Regions from separate parts of the Homo sapiens genome. Here all the other regions are linked to region 1. Evidence: promoter capture Hi-C in 16 types of primary human blood cells and fetal thymus (Javierre and others, 2016). All regions are on one chromosome and are shown on one strand. The core of a region is centred on a gene start or on the middle of the fragment in contact, and the rest is flanking DNA. Distances in the headings are between cores, read along the strand shown. Region 1 overlaps CDH4 (cadherin 4). Region 2 holds the start of LINC02910 (long intergenic non-protein coding RNA 2910). Region 3 holds the start of SYCP2 (synaptonemal complex protein 2).

Evidence for each region. The method cuts DNA at HindIII sites, captures the fragments that hold promoters and counts their contacts. A CHiCAGO score of 5 or more calls a contact.
Region 2: a contact is called between the fragment with the promoter of LINC02910 here and a fragment that was not itself captured in region 1, in 1 of 17 cell types (endothelial precursors). The highest score is 5.9, in endothelial precursors.
Region 3: the fragment with the promoter of SYCP2 here is called in contact with a fragment that was not itself captured in region 1 in 1 of 17 cell types (total CD8 T cells); the score reaches 6.0 in total CD8 T cells.

Annotation. Positions count from the first base shown.
Region 1 is chr20:61,261,437-61,264,293 of GRCh38, reverse strand. The region is part of intron 2 of CDH4 (cadherin 4); the gene reads right to left. Among named protein-coding and RNA genes, the nearest start is that of CDH4, 11 kb to the right of the region's middle. RefSeq lists an enhancer at 1,539-2,050. The HindIII fragment of the contact is 579 bases long and covers 1,200-1,778 here.
Region 2 is chr20:60,054,548-60,057,615 of GRCh38, reverse strand. LINC02910 (long intergenic non-protein coding RNA 2910) reads right to left here and starts at 1,691. Exons shown (of 4, transcript NR_161293.1): 1 at 1,608-1,691. RefSeq lists an enhancer at 1-3. The HindIII fragment of the contact is 13,245 bases long and covers 874-3,068 here.
Region 3 is chr20:59,932,250-59,934,999 of GRCh38, reverse strand. SYCP2 (synaptonemal complex protein 2) reads left to right here and starts at 1,363. Exons shown (of 45, transcript NM_014258.4): 1 at 1,363-1,431. It also overlaps a transcript of FAM217B not described here. RefSeq lists a silencer at 673-1,072. The HindIII fragment of the contact is 1,592 bases long and covers 1-1,530 here.

The DNA of each region.
Region 1 (2,857 bases), core at 240-2,739:
TGTGTAGGACTGAATGAAGGAACCACTGGGTTCTGCAGGGTTGAATGAAGGTCACCGCACAGTGTGGGACGCATAGCAAGTCCTTAGTGTGCGGAAGCCAGTGGGAAACTCCCACACACACCTGCTAGGATTGCTCTGTCGTCAGACACGCATGTGGTCAGCAGAATCACGACTCCCCAGAGATGTCCCCATCCTAATTCCGGAGGCTGTGAGCCTGGGATCTCACGTGGTAGTGGGGACTTGGCAGAGGTGACTGAATTAAGAGTCTTGCAACGGGAGATTATCCTGGGTTACTCAGGGAGGCCCAAGGTAATCACAGGGATTCTTACAAGTGGAAGAGAAGGATGTAGAGAGAGGTGGATGTGACCAGTGACCCTCAATGACCCTGGAGGACGGCACAGAGATGCTTCACGGCTGGCTCTGAAGACGGAGGAAGCGGCCAGGAGCCAAGGAGTGCAGGAGCCCTGAGGAGCTGGGAGGCACAAGGAGACAGATTCTCCCCAGGAGCCTCCAGAAGGAACCCACCCTGCAGACACCTTGATTTCAGCACAGGGACTGGAGCTGGACTTCTGACCTTCAGAACCACAAGATAATAACTTTGTGTTGTTTAAGCTGCTACATATGTGGGGATTTATACTGCAATAAGAAAATAATACAATTTGTAATCTAAGTAAATTCCTCCTGGAAAAGGCAGTGTGGGAGATAAAAACATACAGACAAAGTCCCCTGCCCATACCGAGTGATCTGGGGCATGCCTTCTAACTACCTTAGGCTGCAGGTCTCCTGACAGCGTTAAATGAGAAGACACATTGGCACATGGTAAGTCCCCCCAAACAACAGCTCCTCCCCTCCTTCCTGGCCCCTGATGTGGGGGTTGCCAGGAAAATGGCCTCGGGGAGCACATACTGGGTCAAAGATAATTAAATAGGGATTTTTGGTTGGTTTGTTCTCTTTTGTTTAAGAACTGAAAGCAGACACCAGCCAGAGACAATACCGGAGGCCACCAGGAGAGGGCAGCCCAGAGCCCGGGCAAAAAGGCACCAAAATTCTGAGCCTTTTGACGAAAAACCAAGGATTTTACCAGCCCAGCTTGCCAGACACCACAGTCCCACTCTGGGGACTGAAGGAGCCTGCAAATGCCATGAGGTTTTACAAGAACACACCGGGGAGAACTTTACCGCCCTTGACGGAAAGAAGCTTCATTCGGCTTATGGTATTTTTTATAGTGGAATTCACTTGGAGGAGAAATTACTTCTTCAAAAAGTCAGAATAATAGGCACACTTTTTGAAAAGATGAATGCTTGCTTGCTCTCTCTCTCTCTCTCTCTCAGTTCATGATTAGTCCTGGCATCTACTTAACCCAGCTTTCAAAGAAAAAAGAAAGGAAGGAAAGGAGGAAGGGAGGGAGGGAGAGAGCAAGGGAGAGAGGGTGGAAGGAAGGGAGGGAGGGAGGGGAAGGGGAGGGAAGGGGAGAGGGAAGAGAGGAAAGGAGGGAAGGAGGGAGGGAGGAGAGAGGGAAGGAGGAAGGAGGGTGGGAGGTAAGGAGGTAAGGAGGAAAAAGCCCTTTCCTTTATCCACCTCCATTTGCAACATAAGAGAAGTCACAAAATTTCCACATTTTGAAATTAGTGTCATGGAGCACACAATACAGGGATGCACACACCAAATACACTTCCTTTGAACTTGGTTATGAATTTCATTGTGATTTTTTAACACTGCAGGGTAGAATTAGAAAAATCATTATTTCTGAAACAAAGAAGCCACAGGTCTTGGAAGCTTACACCAACCCAGTCGCCACGCAGTCCCAGAGTGGAAGTGACCCTGCGCCCAGGAAGGCCACCCCTGGAGGCAAAAGCGTGCAAAGGGGCTTCGCCGCAAGGGGTTTTGGCAGAAAACGGGAACCCACGTGAACCTCGGAAAGCACCACATCTTCAGACTGTTTCAAGTTATACCAAGCACCTTGCTCTCTCTCAGCTTAGAGTACGAGATCTCTGCAGACACCCAGGACCCCGACATGGGCAGAAAGGCCACGGCAGCCTCAGGACCAGCTCTCACGGCATCAGCTCAAGAGAGGCCGTCAGGGAGCCCCGCCCCGGCTGGCCAGCTGCACAGTCGTGGCACTTTCTCTCAATCTGTAACCGGCCTCACTAAGGTTCCTGGTGCCCCATGTCACAACGTGAGTGTTGACAACAATGGATCCGTGCATAAACCCAGCTCAGATGGAACGTGCTCAGGGCTTCCAGGACCAGCCGGACTCTTCTCTCTGCTCCCTCTCTGCCCGGCTTCCCCAGCGCTGGCAGAGTCTAAAATCCGAGAGAGAGCTCGGCTCTGGGACTGCTCGCTGCATGCTCAGAATTGAAAGCTCCCACTGGCATCACAGAAGCCGCGGGCTCTTCTAATCCCAGGGCTGGTTTTGCAAACCCCCGGTGTCGAGAGTTTAGACCCACTTCAGTTGAGCCTTATACATGAGCAACTGCAACCAAGCACTTTCTGACACACTGAGGGCCTCTGTTTACTGCACATACCTGTGTGCCTGGTCACTGCTGGTCTTATGGCTGTGGCCCTGAACATCTGGGTCCGATCCTGTCTGCACGTGACAGTGGTGCTCTAAAACCATCTTCTTTAACATTAATTTGGAGATAGGAATGAGCTAAGTGCCTAGGACTGCACAAAGAGGGAAAACAGAGCAAATCTCCTACCCTTAGGCCAATCTCCAGAACTCACCGATCATCAGTTACTGATCCATAAAATGAGAACAATTTTACCTCCCTGGAAGGGCTTTTGTGAAAGTTAAATGAGATATCGTATACCAAGGACTGGACAGAACATAATGTTATTATATTATAATTCTGCAAAG
Region 2 (3,068 bases), core at 442-2,941, 1.2 Mb after region 1:
GCCACAGCCGCCGCACACAAGCTCTGTTCCTGGCTTGCTTCTGCCATCTGCTGGCCAGTTGATAAAAGGCACCGGGGGTTATTTTCCAGTCTCTCTGAGGCTCTTGTTTTGTGGGAGGAACTCATCACCACCTTTATCTTCACAAGGGCTGCTTGGCAGACCTGTCCCATAAGTAGTGCAACTTGGGAAGATCCTAGGCCTCTTGTGGGTAGGGCAGTCATCCAGTCCTGCATCTTATGACTTCACACGTTACAAACGTTAACTTGCTAAACACTCAATGTGAAACCTAGGAGTAAGGGACAATTATCTTTACTATCTACAAACAAGGATGTTCAGGCACAGAGAGGCTCAGTACATTGTGCAAAGTCACACAGCTACAGAGTTGTGAAGCCGAGATTGGAACTCAAGCAATAAGGCACTTTGATGGCAGGCACCTTAATGGGGGGTGGGGGAACACCCTTTACCAACAACCATGCAAATGGCCCAGGTGCTCCTGTGACCCCTGATCCCAGGGGCTCCACCAGAGCACCAGAGAGAGAGGGATGTGGGAAGAGCAGAGGACAGAAGAGGACACGTGCATCTAACCACTCGGAGGACAGGAGAAGGCACCCTAACCTTCTGAGCTGCCATCTTCCAATCAGGAGGAGGGGAGCACTGGATACATAATCTCAAGGCTTTCCCTACAGTTCTCTCAACAGGACAGACAGGCAGGGGTGCACAGTGGTTAGAGCACAGGCTTTTTGGTCAGACAGAACTGGGTTAAAGATCAGACACGTCCACTCACTCTCAATGAGTCCATATCTGTAAGCCTAAGCTTCCGTCCTCACACATGTTGATAAAAGAAAAAGAAAAAAAAAGGCCAAGTGCAAAGCTTTTAGCATTGTTTCTGGTTCAGGGTATGGACTTAATACTGTTTTCTATCATTATAACCACACTAAAGGCTCTGAGAAGTCCTGCAGGAAGGAAAACTACTTGTCTTTATCTCAGCCATCCCCAAGCTAGCTGCCCACAGAGCCACCATGGAGCCCACAGCTCTGTCACCCCACAGGGCCCATGTGCCTGGCCCATTCATGTTCCCTCACACGGGAGCCTCAGGCCCCAGTGGAAACAGACTCAGGAGACAAACCCAGGCCTCCTGCTCCCAGCTCCCCACTCTGTCCTTCTGCTTCTACATCCAACTACCCCCAAAGCAGTTTCTACAATCCATAAACAAAAGAATTCAGAGACAATTCTCCAGGGCTCCCAAGACGACATATTTCATCTGTGGCTTCTACAGTGCTTATTTGTCAGTTTTACAGACCAGAGGCAATTAAGAGTCTAAGGCCGAGAAGGCTGTTTTTAATAATTCTGTCATTATTCTCAATTTTCAGCACCACCACACATGAAAAACCCATTTCCAATTCCCTTAAAGGTGTTAAATGGTTTTTGCACTGTGTTGCAAAAGTTTGCCGTCCGCCAAACTGCTACAAAGTGGGCTTGTAGCGTCCGGTCCTGAGCTGTGGGAACGACTTGGTCGGGGCTGATCCGCTGGAGCCCAGCTCTTTCCCCAAGCGTTCAATTCCCAGCACATGCCGCGTGGGTCACTGTGGATTTCAGGGTGGACTCACCGCGCTGCTGGGTGTTGCAGTCCACGCGATTTCACAAGACTCCATGCAGGACACCTCCACCCGGCCCAGGCTCAGGCAGGATATGAACAGGAAACCACTGTTTCCTGCCGATCAACACCCAGGAACTGATGAAGTAACCCAGTGCCCAGCCCCTCTGACAGCCACAGAGCCAAGAAGAGGGAAGTGAGGTGGCATCCAAGGCAGCCCCTGAAAGAACTAAGCAAGGCAAGTTCAAGGGGTTCAGGGCTCTGCAGCAGCTGATGGGGAGCAGGGAGGAGCATTCCGTTTTCAGGGCATTGAAAGTCCTTGAAAGGAGAAAATTTTATAAGGAATGACAAGGCCTGGATGCAGAAGGTGGGAGACCCCTGCCCTTGATAACCGTCATAGTTACCAATGACAACTATGATAAAGAGATGACTTTCTGTGGCTCCCACTTGCTGCCCTCTGTGGTTCCAGGCACATCACAGAGAACTCTTCATTTTCATGAGGCCCCATAAGGACATCCCTATTACTATGATCCTTATCAATATCCTGATGTTACAAATGAGGGAACCAGGACACAGAGACGCTGAGGAACTTGTCTGAAGTTACATGGTGGAGACATAGCCTGGGACGCAGCAGTGAGAGGGACAGACGAGCCCTGCCCCTGTGCACCAAGCCATCTGCTGGGGACGCAGAAATCAAACAGCTCGTGGCTGCCCTTGTGCCCAGCGCTGTGGGCATGAGCGAGCTGCTTTGAAGAGACAGCGTGGTGACCTGCCCTGCTGGCCCAGGCAGCATCACACGGCAAGAAGGCGGGCTTTGAAGGGTTTTAAACAGAGTCGTGTTCCCACGTCTGCAGTGAGAGGGCTGCAAGCCTTTGTGTTTTTCACACGGTGTTACACAGCGTTGGGGTCCACGGACCTGCCTCGGAAGCTGCTCATGGGCAAATGGACGACCACGGGTGGGGAAGGAAATTTCCCCCAAACACACACATGCTTCACCCAGAGCAGCCAAGCTGTTTGTGTGTTTGTGTGTATTCACGTGTGTATGTGTGTGTGTGTGTCTTATGCCTAATGGTTCATTGAGTTTAAGGATCTCTCAGCTCCCTTGCAGCACAAATGTTTCATAATTTGGTGGTTAGCGCGCAGTGACCAGGCAATACAGGTTCATCAAAATGCACCAATGAGACAGAGACAGGAGAGGATGTTTTGGCAGCAGACAGACATCCAGGAGGCCTAGCACACCCCCATCCCCCGGCCCCAACCTCAGAGAGATAATCAGGGGAGCAAAGGGCATTAGTATGAAACGACCAAAGAGACTTAGCGAGCAACGTCAGACTCCCTGCAACACGCGTGCTGATGGGACAGAGGGGGAGTTATTTTTATACTTCAGAAATAACCAAGCATTCTGCATGCCCAAAGCCAGTTTGGGTTTTAAATACCTTTCATAATTTTTCTGACTATGGAGGTAATACATCCT
Region 3 (2,750 bases), core at 114-2,613, 1.3 Mb after region 1:
ATCTGTCAGCTCTGAATTAAAAAACTAAGATATCAAAATTAAGTTCAATGGGGGTAGTTACAAAGTTGTCAAGAAGTTGGTAATTCTAGCTAAGCAGAATATTTAAAACACCTCTGAGAGCTTATTTACTGTGATTTGATCTGCTCTGGTCCACAACTGAGCTTTGATTCTATTACCTTGTGTTTATTTTTTTCAGGTGCTTTCCACCGCACATTTAAATCTTAATCCCATATTTTTAAACAATTAGTGCCTTTTAGATAAGAAATTAAAATGTTATTAAAATATAATTTTAAATTTTGATTTGAAGATACCTATAAAAGTTTAACTACACATACAATTCAACTTTTAAAAATTGATCCGACACAAATATTAATCCAAAGGTGGTTTGCTGCAGTATTATTTGTAATAGAAGTGTAGGCTCATCAGTGGAGGATTGAATTCCTCGGATGAAGTTAATCCACATGATTAAATAATTACGAAGCTGTTAGAAAGACCGAGCTGCATCTCAGTGCACGTGGAACAGTTTCCATCTCAGAACGCGAGCACGGGGAAAACACGCAGAAGACTGAGCGCCGAACACCGACGCCCTCTGCGAGCCAAGGGGCAAGGAGACCCTTTCGCGGCTGTGCCTGTCTCAGAAGGGCCTGCGATTTTTTACACAAGCACCCGCTGGCTGCATAAGTTAAACGGATCTCTTAAATGGAAGCGTCTGAAAGAGCCTAGGAATACACAGTTGGGTACCCAGCTCAGCACCCCGTCTCCGGACCTGCGGTCTCTCCCGCCCTCCGGCACCCGCACCCAGGAGCCCAGGCGGCCCTGCGCCCCCTGCCGGCAGGAGCCAGGCCTCACCCAGGAGTCGTCGGCCCGGCGCCCTGGTCCCCCGGTCCAGCTCGCCCCTGCAGGGCTGGCTGGAGCCGCGGGTCCCAGTGGCTCTGGGGACGCATAGCGCGGGGATGGGCTTCTCCTGGTCCCGCCCGCGCTTCCGTCCCTTCCATCCCTTCCTGCTCGCCTGTCCCGGGACCAGGGCCCCAGTCAAGGCAGCGAGTCTCCTCGCTGGCGGGGGTGACTCCGCTCGCGGGGCGTTCATCAGGAGAGCATAGCGCGAGAGGACGGGCCGAAGCGCGGGGACAGCGGGGACCCACTAACCTGAGGGCCTGGCCTGAGCCGCGCCCACAGCGTCCCCCTTGGCTCAGGCCTCGGGCGACCCCGGCGAGCGTTGGCGGGGGTGGGGGGGATGGGGGGGGCGGGACCTGGCTGGCGGCGACGCCGATTGGACGCACTATCGACCGCACCTGGCGCGGATTGGACGGGCGCTTCCCGCCTTCCGCCGTTCGCCGGAGGCGCTGCGGCGGTCCCTGAGGCGCAGAGTTGCGACGCTCGGCGGCATAGGGGGCGGCTCCACCGACACTACGCGGACGCCTCCTGCCGCAGGCAGGTTGAGCAGAGTGCCTGGGTGGGCTTCCCCCACGGCGGGGCGCGGAGGGAGGGTGGGGCTTCGGCTTGGCCTTTCAAGCCGGCAGGCGAGAAGCTTCCGACGGTTGAGGCGGAGCCGTTGTGGAAGCTGCCGAGGGGGAGGGGGTGCGGTTCTGCGGCAGTGGGCGGAGGGGAGGCGCCGAGGCTGGGCCAGGGCGTGGGCTGTGCAGAGTTCGCGGCGAGGGTGGCTCGCGCAGGCGCGAGGCTCCCCATCAGCACCTGCCTGGCCAGCCTCGGCCTCGGGGATGGGAAATGGGCGCTCGGAGCCGCCCCCGCGCGTGGGCGACTCGGTCAAGGTGGCTGAGGCGCGGGGCGGTGCGCTTGGCGAGCGGGGAGCAGGCCTGGGGCTGCGCGCGTCGCCGGCCCGAGGAGGCTGAGGGGTGCGGGAGAAGCGGTGGCGACGGGAGCCCTGGGGACCGCTGCTCGCCTGTCTCCGGGACATCTGAAGGGGGGTTGGCGCTGCGGCCTGGGGCGCATCTCGGGTGTGTGTGTGCTTTGTTGGTTCGGGGGTGACCCTGGGAAAAGGGTCACCGTGCCGGCGGTGGGAGCAGGGACTTCGCCTTCGGCCTCGTTGTTGCCACTGCCGGTTCCACTTAGGGAAGAAGGGAGTGCGCGCAAAACCTTCCTCCTGCTCGGCGCCTTCAGTCCCTTCTCTCCCTCCCGCCGTCCCCACCTGCGGCCTCTCCTTGCGGTTGAGGCCGCCAGCCCCTCCGCGCAGCTGGGCCTGATGCGTCCCGCGGCGGCTCAATGCGCGACACGTGGCTCCACGTGCGGCCTTTTCTGGACCGGGCTCCAGGCTGGCCGAGCATCTGCGAATACGGCAGCGTGGTTTTTTTTTGTTGTTTTTTTTCCCGAGACGGAGTCTCGCTCTGTCACCCAGGCTGGAGTTTAGTGGTGCGATCTCGCGTCACTGCAACCTCCATCTTCCGGGTTCCAGCGATTCTCCTGCTTCAGCCTCCGGAGTAACTGGGACTACTTGGCGCGCCACCACGCCCAGCTAATTTTGTATTTTTAGTAGAGACGGGTTTTCTCCATGTTGGCCCGGCTGGTCTCGAACTCCTGACCTCAGGTGATCCACCTGCCTCGGCTTCCCAAAGTGCTGGGATTACAGGTGTGAGCCACCTCGCCCGGCCTACATTTTTTAGTAATGATGGGAGGAGGAGGACGCCTTCCCTCCCCTTCATTCACCTTTAATGTCTTTTTGGACACCTTAGCTATGTTAGTTACCAGGGCAGAGGGGACTTTGAATTATCTACTGCTGCTTGCATTCATTCAGC